2 separate regions of the Homo sapiens genome follow, and region 2 is linked to region 1. The links are contacts of gene promoters, found by promoter capture Hi-C in blood cells and fetal thymus (Javierre and others, 2016). All regions are on one chromosome and are shown on one strand. The core of a region is centred on a gene start or on the middle of the fragment in contact, and the rest is flanking DNA. Distances in the headings are between cores, read along the strand shown. Region 1 holds the start of MMRN2 (multimerin 2). Region 2 holds the start of MINPP1 (multiple inositol-polyphosphate phosphatase 1).

Region 1 (5,569 bases), core at 987-3,486:
AAGAAGCAGTTAACCCCTTCGCTTCTCCACCTCAGGGAAGTCTGAGGACGTAGTGGTTCTATTCAAGCTTCTCCTTGCAAAGGGTCTTATTGGGGCCTGCATCCTGGGCCCAGCCTAGCCCTGGGGCTCTGGAAACAGATGTAAGTGGCAAAGGCAGGGCAGAATGCCTGGCCCTGGCAGCCGAGCCTCCTTGTGATGGTGTTGGTGTCACCACCCCTGCTAGCAGAACCCAGTCTGCCTCCCCTTCCCATGCTGCAGGGACAGGGTCTGGAGCACGCTTCCACCTCCCTGGTCACAGGAGCAAGGGAAGTAATCAGCCCAGGAAGCCGCGCGTTTCCTTCCTTTCTCACCAGCCCATCCGGGTTTGGTGAGAGAGCATGGACTTGCCCTGTGGAGACTGCAGCTTCTGGATGTGGGAAGGAGAGCCCTGCAGGCAGGGGGCTTCCAGGCTTGGGACACCTGGGCATTCCTGGGCCAGGTACATGCACCCTCCCACTCAGAACCCCAGAGAAGGACTGCGGGGCCCCTGCAGGGCTGCCCATCAGCAGTTCCCAAACCCTCACTCCTTGGGGCTAAGGGAGCAATGTCTCTCCCACAACCAAGGGGGTGGGGAGGAAGAGGAGCAGCTCCCTCCTCCCTCCCGTCCACCGGGTCCTCTCATCCTCCCTTTCATCAAAAGGCGGAAGGTGGCCTGAGACTAAGGCGTGGAGCTTCCTTGGTCCTGAAATCAGAGCGGAGTGGCTGGATCCAGCCCGCCCCTCCCCCGCCCCCTGCTCCCCTTGCCGCCCCACCACCGAGAATCACCTGCACCTCCCAGCCCTGAGCAGAGTTGGGGGCAGGCGGGAATGAGGTTTCTCCATGGCCAACTGCTCAGCCACTGTTCCCCACGCCACTGCCACCAGACCCTCACTAAGGGGCCTCTTGCCCCTCCCTGGTCAAATCTGTTTTCAGGAAAGCACCCAACAAACCTGCAACTCAGAAGCCAAATGAGACCTATCCCAGGCAGGTCCGCTCTGCGATGGTGGCTCTCATACACCGCACAGAAGTGTAAGTTGGCCCCCCCCTCACTCCCTAAATCCATGTAGATGCCCTTAGCCAAACAGGTCTGGTGTGTGGGGGCAGGAGGGTGGAGGTAGGAGCATCTGGGGGCTGGGGCTGGCTCCAAGTGCTGCAGAGAGTTCACTATGAGCTCTGAAGTCAAACTCAGATCCTGCTCCTTAGCTGTGTGGCCTTGGGCAAGCCCCTCAGCCTCTCTGAGCCTCAGGCTCCTCCTCTGTAAGTGGGGCTGTTGGAGGGATGAACTGAGATACACGTGGCAAGGTGCCTGGCCCTGAGACTGGGGGCCCCGTAAACAGCACCTGCTGCTCTGACTGAGGGGCAGTTGGAGATGAGGGGGGACTTACAGGCCCAACACCTCATCAGCAGGATGGGCCCTGGCTCTGTACACATAGAATGTTGGAAAGCTATGTTCTGGGTCCAGTTGCAAGACCATCCTGCCCACTTGCTGGGTCGCTGAGGCAGAGCGCCCTGGACTGTGCTCTGGAGAGCAGGGGGCCGTCTCTGCTCACTGCTGGGCAGTCAGAGTCAGGTCCCCAGGGAACTCAGATCAAAATCTCAGGGCAGCCTTGCTGGGTCTCAGCTTTCAGAATTGATTTCTTTGGAAGAACAGGAGGCATAGCCAGGCCAGCTGGCAATGGCTTCAGCCACAGTCCCCCAGTGCCCCATGCTGGGTGATTGATGGTAGGAGCTGTGCCTCCCTGCCAGCCCCCCAAGCCCCATTCCCTGCCATGGCTCCGACAGGGAACTCCCTGCAATTCTTAGGTGGATCCTGAAACACCCAGTCCAGACTACTTTTTCAGCCTCACAGATGGCCCAGAGATAGATACTATTAGCCCATTTCACAGATGGGACCCCAGTGAGGTCTAGAGAGGCTCTGCTCTAGCTGAGCTGGGACTCAGATCCTACTCCATGACCTCTGCCAAGGTCCAGGCCCTCTTACCGTCCTACGGGGTCCTTGCCGGTGTCCTCAGCCTCTGCCTTCCAGACCCCAGGTGTCCTGGAGCTCTGCAGATCAGAGAGGCTAGTACTGGAAGCCTGGGCCCATGCCCCCAGCAGCCCCCAGCCCAGGGGGCCCCCAAGGCTGAACAGCAAGCTCAGGATCATCTTGGTGGTGGGGCAGGCTCAGCTCACACTCAGCCTTGGCAAGTAGCTCCAGAAACTGCTAGTGACGTTGTCTTCAAGTTAAATCTCAGGAGGAAAAGAAAATACGAGGACAACAAAGAGAGGAAGTGGCCTGGGCCGGCCTACCCGGTGGGTCTTGTCCTGCCCCCCAACTACCCTGGCTGGCCCCACAGGGGCCGCCAACCACACAAGCCAGTTCCTGTCCCTGAGGACTTGGCTCAGGGACTCTGGGAATGTGGTAGACATGGGGTGGCCCCACCAAATGCATCCTTATGGGAACCTGCTCCCTGGGAGCCATGAAAAGAGCGTGGACTTCGAGGTGGGGCCACAGGAAGTGGTCAGGTCCATCTCAGGGGACCTGCTGCCCATCCACACTGCTGGCCAGGAAATGGGGGGCAATTCATGCCTCCTCAGCACCTTCAGCACTGGGCGGCTCAAAGAAGGGAAGGGACTATTCTGGGGTCACACAGCATGCAGCCAGAGGCCAAGGCATGAGGAAGTCCTTCATTTCCCCACCCCCACCCACCTCAGATCCTCCAACCGGTTTCATGGCAGCCCAGGGTCCAGCGGCATCCAGGATGCTGGTGGGTAGCTGCACAGCCCAGGCCGCGGGAGGTTGGCTGCTCTCACCTAACAGGCCTATGTGGCCCTGACCCCTACCTAGGAAGCTGGGGACAATGGCCAAGGCGCCTCCCCTCTCTGTGCCTGTCTGTCCAGGTGCAGCATAGACACAGCACCCCTGGGGCCAAGAGCACCCAGCCAGGGCTGCCCCCATGGGTGGGCAGGGCAGTAAATGAATGAGGGACAGGTTGGGAGGTGGCCAGCCCCCTCCAGCCCATGGAGGGCACGGGGCAGGAGAGCTGGGCTGAGCCAGCAGGAGCCCAGGGAGCCTGGTCTCTGCCTTCCTATCCTGGAGGAAGGTGAGGCTGAACCTCCTTCCCTCCCTCCCTCCCTCCCCGCCCCCACTGCACGCAGGGCTGGCTGGGCTCCAGCTGGCCTCCGCATCAATATTTCATCGGCGTCAATAGGAGGCATCGGGGACAGCCGCTGCGGCAGCACTCGAGCCAGCTCAAGCCCGCAGCTCGCAGGGAGATCCAGCTCCGTCCTGCCTGCAGCAGCACAACCCTGCACACCCACCATGGATGTCTTCAAGAAGGGCTTCTCCATCGCCAAGGAGGGCGTGGTGGGTGCGGTGGAAAAGACCAAGCAGGGGGTGACGGAAGCAGCTGAGAAGACCAAGGAGGGGGTCATGTATGTGGGTAAGTGGGGCATGGCAGGGTGGGACAGTGTGGTGGCCAAAGGGTGAGTGCCCAGTTACCTTCGCCAGACCTTACTCCCCAGCCCCAGGGAGGCATTTTGGGAGGGGGCGAGGCCCTGGCTATCAAGGTGGGGTCTCCAGACCCTGGAGCACCCACAATGCCCTGTGCACACCTATGTGTGTTTGTCTTTGGCCTCCTCGGGGCCTCTGGGTGTCAGAGACCGCAGACAGGGCTGGCTACCTGTCTGTGCACGCACACACACATTCCCAAGCATACCAGCCTCCCCTGAGCCTGGAGCCCCTGAAGCCATGAGCAGCCTGTGCTCAGGTGGCCCCCACCCTCTCCACACGGGAGCGGCTACAGCCAGGTCACGGATCCCCTCCCTCCCCAGAGAGAAGGGGCAGGCTGGGGGATGAAACCTAGGCTCAGTGTTCCCTCCCCCGCATCCTCTCCTGGCACTCTCCAGAGGAGGAAGGGGAGGTCAAGCCAATGACTCAGCTCTGGCCCATCCTGTCCTGTTGCTGCTTCTGAGGCCCGGCCACACCCGGGCAGGGGCTGGACCCTGGGTCTAGCCAGTGTCCCTACCTCAGGCCTGCTCTCTCTTGTCCCCCACATTCTGTCCTGTCCCCTTCCCATCCATCCACTTCTTCCAGACACAGCAGGAAGAGGCCCTCTGAAGGGGCCGCCGGCCCCCAGACACCATCCTTACCCCCCCACCGACCCCACAGTTTGTCCAGCTGTTCTGTTGTGTTTGTCCTGACCGCCCCCAACACCTCGAGGGAGGTCTGGGCTGACAGCTCCATTTCCTCCCCAGGAGCCAAGACCAAGGAGAATGTTGTACAGAGCGTGACCTCAGGTGAGAAGCCCCAGGGCCAGGGGACACATGGGGGATAGGACCCCTGGGGCTCCTGCATCCTAGTGCTGGGGCTCAAACCTAGAGTCCTGCCTTACCCCCAACTGGGGTCCCAAGCCCTACAGACCCCTGCAGACCATGAGGCTAAACTAGGGTGGGCGTCTCCTTACCCCCACCAGCATCAGAGGTGCCCTGGAGTCAGAGGGAGCAGGGGAGGGTCCCAGCAGGGCCAGGGCTCTGAGCTCCTGGGAAGGGGCTGCGAGCCTGACTCCAGCAGGCCTGCCTTGGGGCTGGGGCTGGGGTGGAGGCCAGCCAGTGTCCTCCCATAGTGGCCGAGAAGACCAAGGAGCAGGCCAACGCCGTGAGCGAGGCTGTGGTGAGCAGCGTCAACACTGTGGCCACCAAGACCGTGGAGGAGGCGGAGAACATCGCGGTCACCTCCGGGGTGGTGCGCAAGGTGAGCCCCGGCCCTCAGACCTGCCCAGTCCTCTCCTGGGCCCAGAAAGGCTGCTGGGCGGAGGCGGCATCACTCCACTCCACACCCCAGGAAACAACACGGGGGGCTGCGGCTGGCTTCAGTTTCAGTACCCACTGAGCGCCGGCATGGGGTGGGGTCCATGCTTGCTGTTCGACCTGCATTCGGGTCTGGAATCACCACAACCACCCCTTCGGGGGACTTGGGAGCCCATCTCATAGACAAGGAAAGTGAGGCTCAAAACCACATCTTCCGGACGGCTCTCAGCACTTAGGAGACACCCCATTTTATAAGTGAAAACAGGATCCCACACGGTGACAGGCAGCCTCCCGGGCAGTGGTCACCAGGCCGGGGGCTGAGTAGCACCAGCCCCGCCCCCAGGGCCTAGCCTCCCTCCCTGGGCTGGGCGGGGCAGCTGCCTCCTGCTGGGAGCCTCAGGGAAGTAGCGTCCCCTAGTGGTAAGAAAGCAGTGCTGCTTCTGACCCTACCCTCTGCAGCTGCCTTTGTGTGTGTGTGCACGTGTGTTGAGTGAGCATGTGGGTGCATTTGTGAGAATGTGTGGGTGTACATGCGTGTGAATGTACACATGCGTGTGCGGCCCAATAGCAGACAGCACAGGAGCAGTGGGGCGCACCCCAGGGACGGGTGTTGGCTGGGTGAGCTGTCCCAGCACCTGTGACACAGCAAGCTCTGCTTTACGCATTGTACGCTTATTAGTTCATTTAATAGACACAAAATCCATGAGACGGTGTGGAAACTAAGGCCCAGAGAGATTAATGTGCCCAAGGTCCCATGGCTAGT
Region 2 (5,569 bases), core at 1,553-4,052, 550 kb after region 1:
TGCTTAATAAAAGCAACTGATATTTATTTGGGGGCAGAAACTATATAAAGTCTTTATATAAGCTGTTTCGTTTAATCCTCTCAACAGTCTCATGGCTAGGTATTATTATCCCCACTTTACAATGAAAAAGAATGGTGGCAAAATAATTTAATTTTTTAAATATTTCACAGGTAATAAGAGATGAAGCTGGAATCTGAAAACCAGAAAGTCTAACTTCTGAGACCATGTTCTTAGTATTGTATATGCTTACATAGAGAGCCTTGCTGTTTCCCTACAGAATTTAGCTGTTTCCTTTCCTTTATTGTTTCATCCCCAGAAAACTATCTTAGTAACCTCTTTAAAAGTAAAGTAGATGGCTGTTAACTTAAAATACTATATATGACACCATGTAATCTTTTTTTTTCTTTTTGAGATGGAGTTTTACTCTTGTTGCCCAGGCTGGAGTGCAATGGCGTGATCTCAGCTTACTGCAACCTCCACCTCCCAAGTTCAAGCAATTCTCCTGCCTCAGCCTCCCAAGTAGCTGGTATTACAGGCGTCCACCACCACACCCAGCTAATTTTTTTGTACTTTTAGTAGAGATGGGGTTTCAACATGTTGGCCAGGCTGGTCTCGAACTCCTGACCTCAGGTGATCCACGCACCTCAGCTTCCCGAAGTGCTGAGATTACAGGCATGAGCCACTGTGCCTGGCTGACACCATGCAATCTTAAAAGCTGAATGACTATTTTTGAAATCCTATGGATAATCTGGCAAAAATAATTGAGCTTATCCTTTCGTATAGTGGATTGATTAGAAATGAAGTTCTACTCAAGACCCATTAATGTAGGACCATCAAGTTAAACTTTTTTTCTTTTCCACTCTGAAAAAATACAACAGATAATGTTTGCTTCTAAATAAAATTGCAGAACCACTAGCAATTCATTCTCAGTTGGATCTCCAGAGCTGACCATACAAACTTCTACTTGTTTCTCCCATTCCTCTTAGTTGTCAATCCTTTCCCATTACTTTCCCATTTCTCTCAGTTGCAAATCCAAACCATTTTCACATTTCAAGACTTAATTCCTATTCCCCCATCTTTCAAACTTGTCTCCTATGTTACTGTGGAAACTGAGGCCATCAGACTTGAATTCTATGAACTCTCTCCTGCCAGATCTACAAATTTATCCCCATGTTCACCCATCCTTCTAACATTCTCTTAGAAGATAAGGTCTCATCTCCTTCTGGCCCAAATCAAATTCTCTACCTGTGTTTTTGGTTCTGTCCTCTCCCATCTCTGCAAGGACCTTGAACCATTAATTTTCCTTTCTGCCTCTTGTATTGTGTTAGATTTGCCAAATATATTGCTCCCATACCCACAATTTCTTATGAGGGGAGGTGATGTTCCCATGATCTCTGCAAAGGAATAGCCATGTTTCGCACTATGCAAACTTCTCTGTACTACATGATTGGACCAAGTGGGCACCTATGTCAAAGGGCATCCAATTTACAGAGTGCCCAGATAATTCAGACATGGTCTGGCATGAAATGAGGAGCACGGCCTGTGACCTTTTTAAATTTTTTCAAAGGCTGCTTAGTGCTCTAAGAACAAGATATCCATTTTAAGTGAAATGAGTGGATTTTTATTATTAGAAAAGTTATGAAATGATCTTTGATGCATGTGTTGCCTGTGAAAGTCATTCACTTTAATGTTCAGTGGGAGTAAGTGTAATCCATGTAATTGCTAGAAAGCTAGGCATCTTAGCACAGGAATAATCACACTGAACATTAGTAATGATAAAAATATCATTTATAGCGGCCTATCATATGGATTTTAAATACATCATCTCTGTCATGATAATCCCATGATATAGGTTCTAATATTACCAATTTTCAGATAAAAAAAAAAAACTAAGGCCCAGAGAACTTGGGTCACTCAATTAATAAGCAGCAGAGCTAATTAGAGTCTGGGTCCAAAGCTTAAGCACTCTTCGTCTTCTTTATATTTGGCTTTTTCCTAGCCAAAAACATGGAGGCATTGCTTACTTTTACTTTATCATTGTTATCTTGGCATAACATCAAAATAATTAGGAGCTGATATACCTAAGTGTATAAAACAGGATAAAATTAATTGATGAGGAATTAGATAAGGAAAATAAAATCAAACTAGGGGCAAATTTCATGTATAAAAATGTGTACTGTGCCATACATTTTGTAAGTGGAGTCTCTAAAGATTGCTTCATAAGGAAGAAGTGAATAATGACTTTGGGAACACTTGGTAACCCCTAGGACTCAAAAGATTGGGTGTGAGAAGTTATTAGTAAGCATATGTATTAGGCAAAATACAGTGAGATGAACCTGGAACAAATGCTCGCTGAATGCACTTAGAAATATTATCAGGCGACTCAGCCTATAGAGCATACGGGTTAGAATGTCTATTTTAAGAAGGAGCGGATATTTACTAAATGCTAATTTGAGCAAAGTTCTACAAAAATATCACTGACCATGAATATTCAGGCATTGACATGCTACAAAATAGCATATCGAAAAGAACATCTGTTGCCCTAAAGATGGTTTCCTGCACAGAACGTCTCCAAATTTTCAGCATTCATAGGCTGGCCCCGTTTCTTCTTGGTTAACATTTAGAGGCACGCCTAAACTTAGAGGAACACCTCTCTAAACCAAGGAGACACTTAAAGAGAAAAGGAGTAAAGATGGTGATGGGCTTATAAAGAGCAATGTAATAGTGTCTTTGAAGCAAAAGCTAACTTAATGAAAACGTGGTCCCAATTTCCTTAAATCTGGATCACCGTACGACTTCTGTAATACTTATTATTTCCCCAGCTGGCAAATAAACTGGAGTTCAAGTGGGAAAAAACAAGGTATTGTTCAGACTTATGATTTTTGGGGTCAAAGATTCTGAGCAATAACCTATTAAAAAACCCAGCTTTTGATTTGAGTATGTAAGTAAGTACATGGGAGGAACGTATGGATCTGGAGTGGTGGTAAATACAGAGCATGTTTGCTTCGCAAAGCAGATTAGCTCATACTTAATAATAGAGTAAATCTGTTGGGCCATGACTCAATGCACCCAAATTCTCTAGATTGCTATGTCTCTACTCGCTAAGCCTTCGGGAACAACAAGCACAGAACTTTTAGGGTGCTGTCTCACTGATGTCGGCGTTAGCTCTGGTAGTCCAGGTCAAGATTATACCAAAGATTCAGGACTTAAATTCCTGCAGAATGTAAGCCCCTTTCCAAGTTCTCTGCTTTACTGTATCCTGTTTATTTTCAAACTCAAATGGAAAAAAACGAAACAAAAACCTTGGGCTTCAAGAGGCATCCTGCCGCAAGGCCCAGCGATGTGAATTTTCAACAACCGTCTCAGGCAGATTTCATGCTGATGGTTCAGGCACTAAACTTTGAAAAACACAGTATCACAGAGTAGGGATGGTGATGTAAGAGTCATCTGTAAAAGCTGTGCTGTTTTGGCAGCCTGGGAGGCTAAGGTTTAGTCTAGGCGACTAAGGTTTAGTCCGGGCTGTATTCACACCCAAAACAACTAAAAAAGCGGAGGAGTCTTTGAGTCAATCCCTGAAGCTCCGGCTAAGAGGAAACTCGCCCACGCTCCAGGGCAGCGACGCCGGCTCCACCTCAGCCACGGCTGTCTCAAGCTTCTCGGGGTTTTCCGCCGGCTCCACCCGAGCCACAAGTCTACAGGACTCCTCGGAGCTTTCCGCCGGGACGCAAGACCCACCGCCAGAGGTTGGTACCTCCTAGAGAACAGCGAAGCGCATCCCGAGGGCCGCCGGCCGGAAGCGCCCTCCAGACCCGCCCCCTGCCCTCCGGAGCCGGAAGCTGGGCATCTGCAGCTGGCTCGGCGCACTCCACTGACCGTCCCGACGATGCTACGCGCGCCCGGCTGCCTCCTCCGGACCTCCGTAGCGCCTGCCGCGGCCCTGGCTGCGGCGCTGCTCTCGTCGCTTGCGCGCTGCTCTCTTCTAGAGCCGAGGGACCCGGTGGCCTCGTCGCTCAGCCCCTATTTCGGCACCAAGACTCGCTACGAGGATGTCAACCCCGTGCTATTGTCGGGCCCCGAGGCTCCGTGGCGGGACCCTGAGCTGCTGGAGGGGACCTGCACCCCGGTGCAGCTGGTCGCCCTCATTCGCCACGGCACCCGCTACCCCACGGTCAAACAGATCCGCAAGCTGAGGCAGCTGCACGGGTTGCTGCAGGCCCGCGGGTCCAGGGATGGCGGGGCTAGTAGTACCGGCAGCCGCGACCTGGGTGCAGCGCTGGCCGACTGGCCTTTGTGGTACGCGGACTGGATGGACGGGCAGCTAGTAGAGAAGGGACGGCAGGATATGCGACAGCTGGCGCTGCGTCTGGCCTCGCTCTTCCCGGCCCTTTTCAGCCGTGAGAACTACGGCCGCCTGCGGCTCATCACCAGTTCCAAGCACCGCTGCATGGATAGCAGCGCCGCCTTCCTGCAGGGGCTGTGGCAGCACTACCACCCTGGCTTGCCGCCGCCGGACGTCGCAGGTGACCCCCCGGGCGGCCCGTGTGCTGTCCCGGTCCTCCCACCCGCCCTGGATGCTCTCCCGCCTCCCCCAGACCCTGGGCTTTTCCGATGCCCCCCAGTTCTCTTTCCTCTTTTCCCAAGCCATCATCCCTCGGGCTACGTCCTCCCTGTCGAGGGATATTACAGACTTGGCTATCTCTTTTTCCCCTTACACGTATGTTCATTTATTAATTCATCAGGTGTAAATTCAGCACCTTGTACTCGCTGCCTGCTTTAGTAGAGTTGGGGATCCAACAGGAAAGGGGACAGACGAGGTCTCCCGCAATTTTTGCGCTCCCGTTCCCAAACTGAATTGCCCCTTCGAGCGCCAACCCATCCCTTCCCCCTTCCCTGGCGTCTAGTTTCACAATTGGGCGCACGTTTTAAAAAACAGAATCTAGAATTTTCTTCCTCGGGCTTTGCTTCCGATACTAGTTTTTCCTTCTTTCTTTTTTTTTTTTTTTAAACTCATCATCTTTTTCAGATGACAGTTTTAGACCTACACCCTGTTTTAGGAACCTGATCTCAAGCCTTTGTGTCCTCCTTTTTTCTTCTGTTTTGTTCATGTTTTTACTGTAGCGTTCCCATCGTTGTAGCTGTGGTCCGTGGTCACAAGCAGTAACAACTCATTTATTCCATTAATTACACTTTTTCGAAATTTGAGAAATCATCTAGTAAGGCCCCGTTATTTCACAGGTGAAGAACCCGAGCCCAAGAGTATGCCTTCTTAATTGTCTTTCTCTAAGGTCTAGTATCCAAGTCTTCTGTTTTCCTAGAATGGTTCTTTTTCTCTTAGAAAATGTTGTAATAGTTACAAATAATAATGATAGCATACACCTCATGCCTATTGTATGCCAGGTATGCCTCACATTTATTTTACAAAATCCTTACAACCACAATCTGGAGTTGATAGTATTTTCCCCTTATCTCAAAGATGAGGAAATTGATACACGAACACATTAAATAATTTGCCCATTTTCATACAGCTAGCTGTGGACCCAGGAAATCTGATTCAGAGCTTGCTTTCTTA

Evidence for each region. The method cuts DNA at HindIII sites, captures the fragments that hold promoters and counts their contacts. A CHiCAGO score of 5 or more calls a contact.
Region 2: a contact is called between a fragment that was not itself captured here and the fragment with the promoter of MMRN2 in region 1, in 1 of 17 cell types (activated CD4 T cells). The highest score is 6.1, in activated CD4 T cells.

Annotation. Positions count from the first base shown.
Region 1 is chr10:86,955,379-86,960,947 of GRCh38, forward strand. MMRN2 (multimerin 2) reads right to left here and starts at 2,237. Exons shown (of 7, transcript NM_024756.3): 1 at 2,000-2,237. The coding sequence starts at 2,163. It overlaps SNCG (synuclein gamma), which reads left to right and starts at 3,221. Exons shown (of 5, transcript NM_003087.3): 1 at 3,221-3,440; 2 at 4,255-4,296; 3 at 4,623-4,750. The coding sequence starts at 3,320. RefSeq lists enhancers at 1-508, 3,511-4,110, 5,311-5,569. The HindIII fragment of the contact is 12,184 bases long and covers 66-5,569 here.
Region 2 is chr10:87,501,033-87,506,601 of GRCh38, forward strand. It overlaps MINPP1 (multiple inositol-polyphosphate phosphatase 1), which reads left to right and starts at 3,861. Exons shown (of 5, transcript NM_004897.5): 1 at 3,861-4,520. The coding sequence starts at 3,884. MIR4678 (microRNA 4678) reads left to right here and starts at 2,849; the gene lies at 2,849-2,922. LOC112268064 (a long non-coding RNA gene) reads right to left here and starts at 3,802. Exons shown (of 2, transcript XR_002957094.2): 1 at 3,303-3,802. RefSeq lists enhancers at 3,831-3,920, 4,081-4,140. The HindIII fragment of the contact is 1,695 bases long and covers 1,956-3,650 here.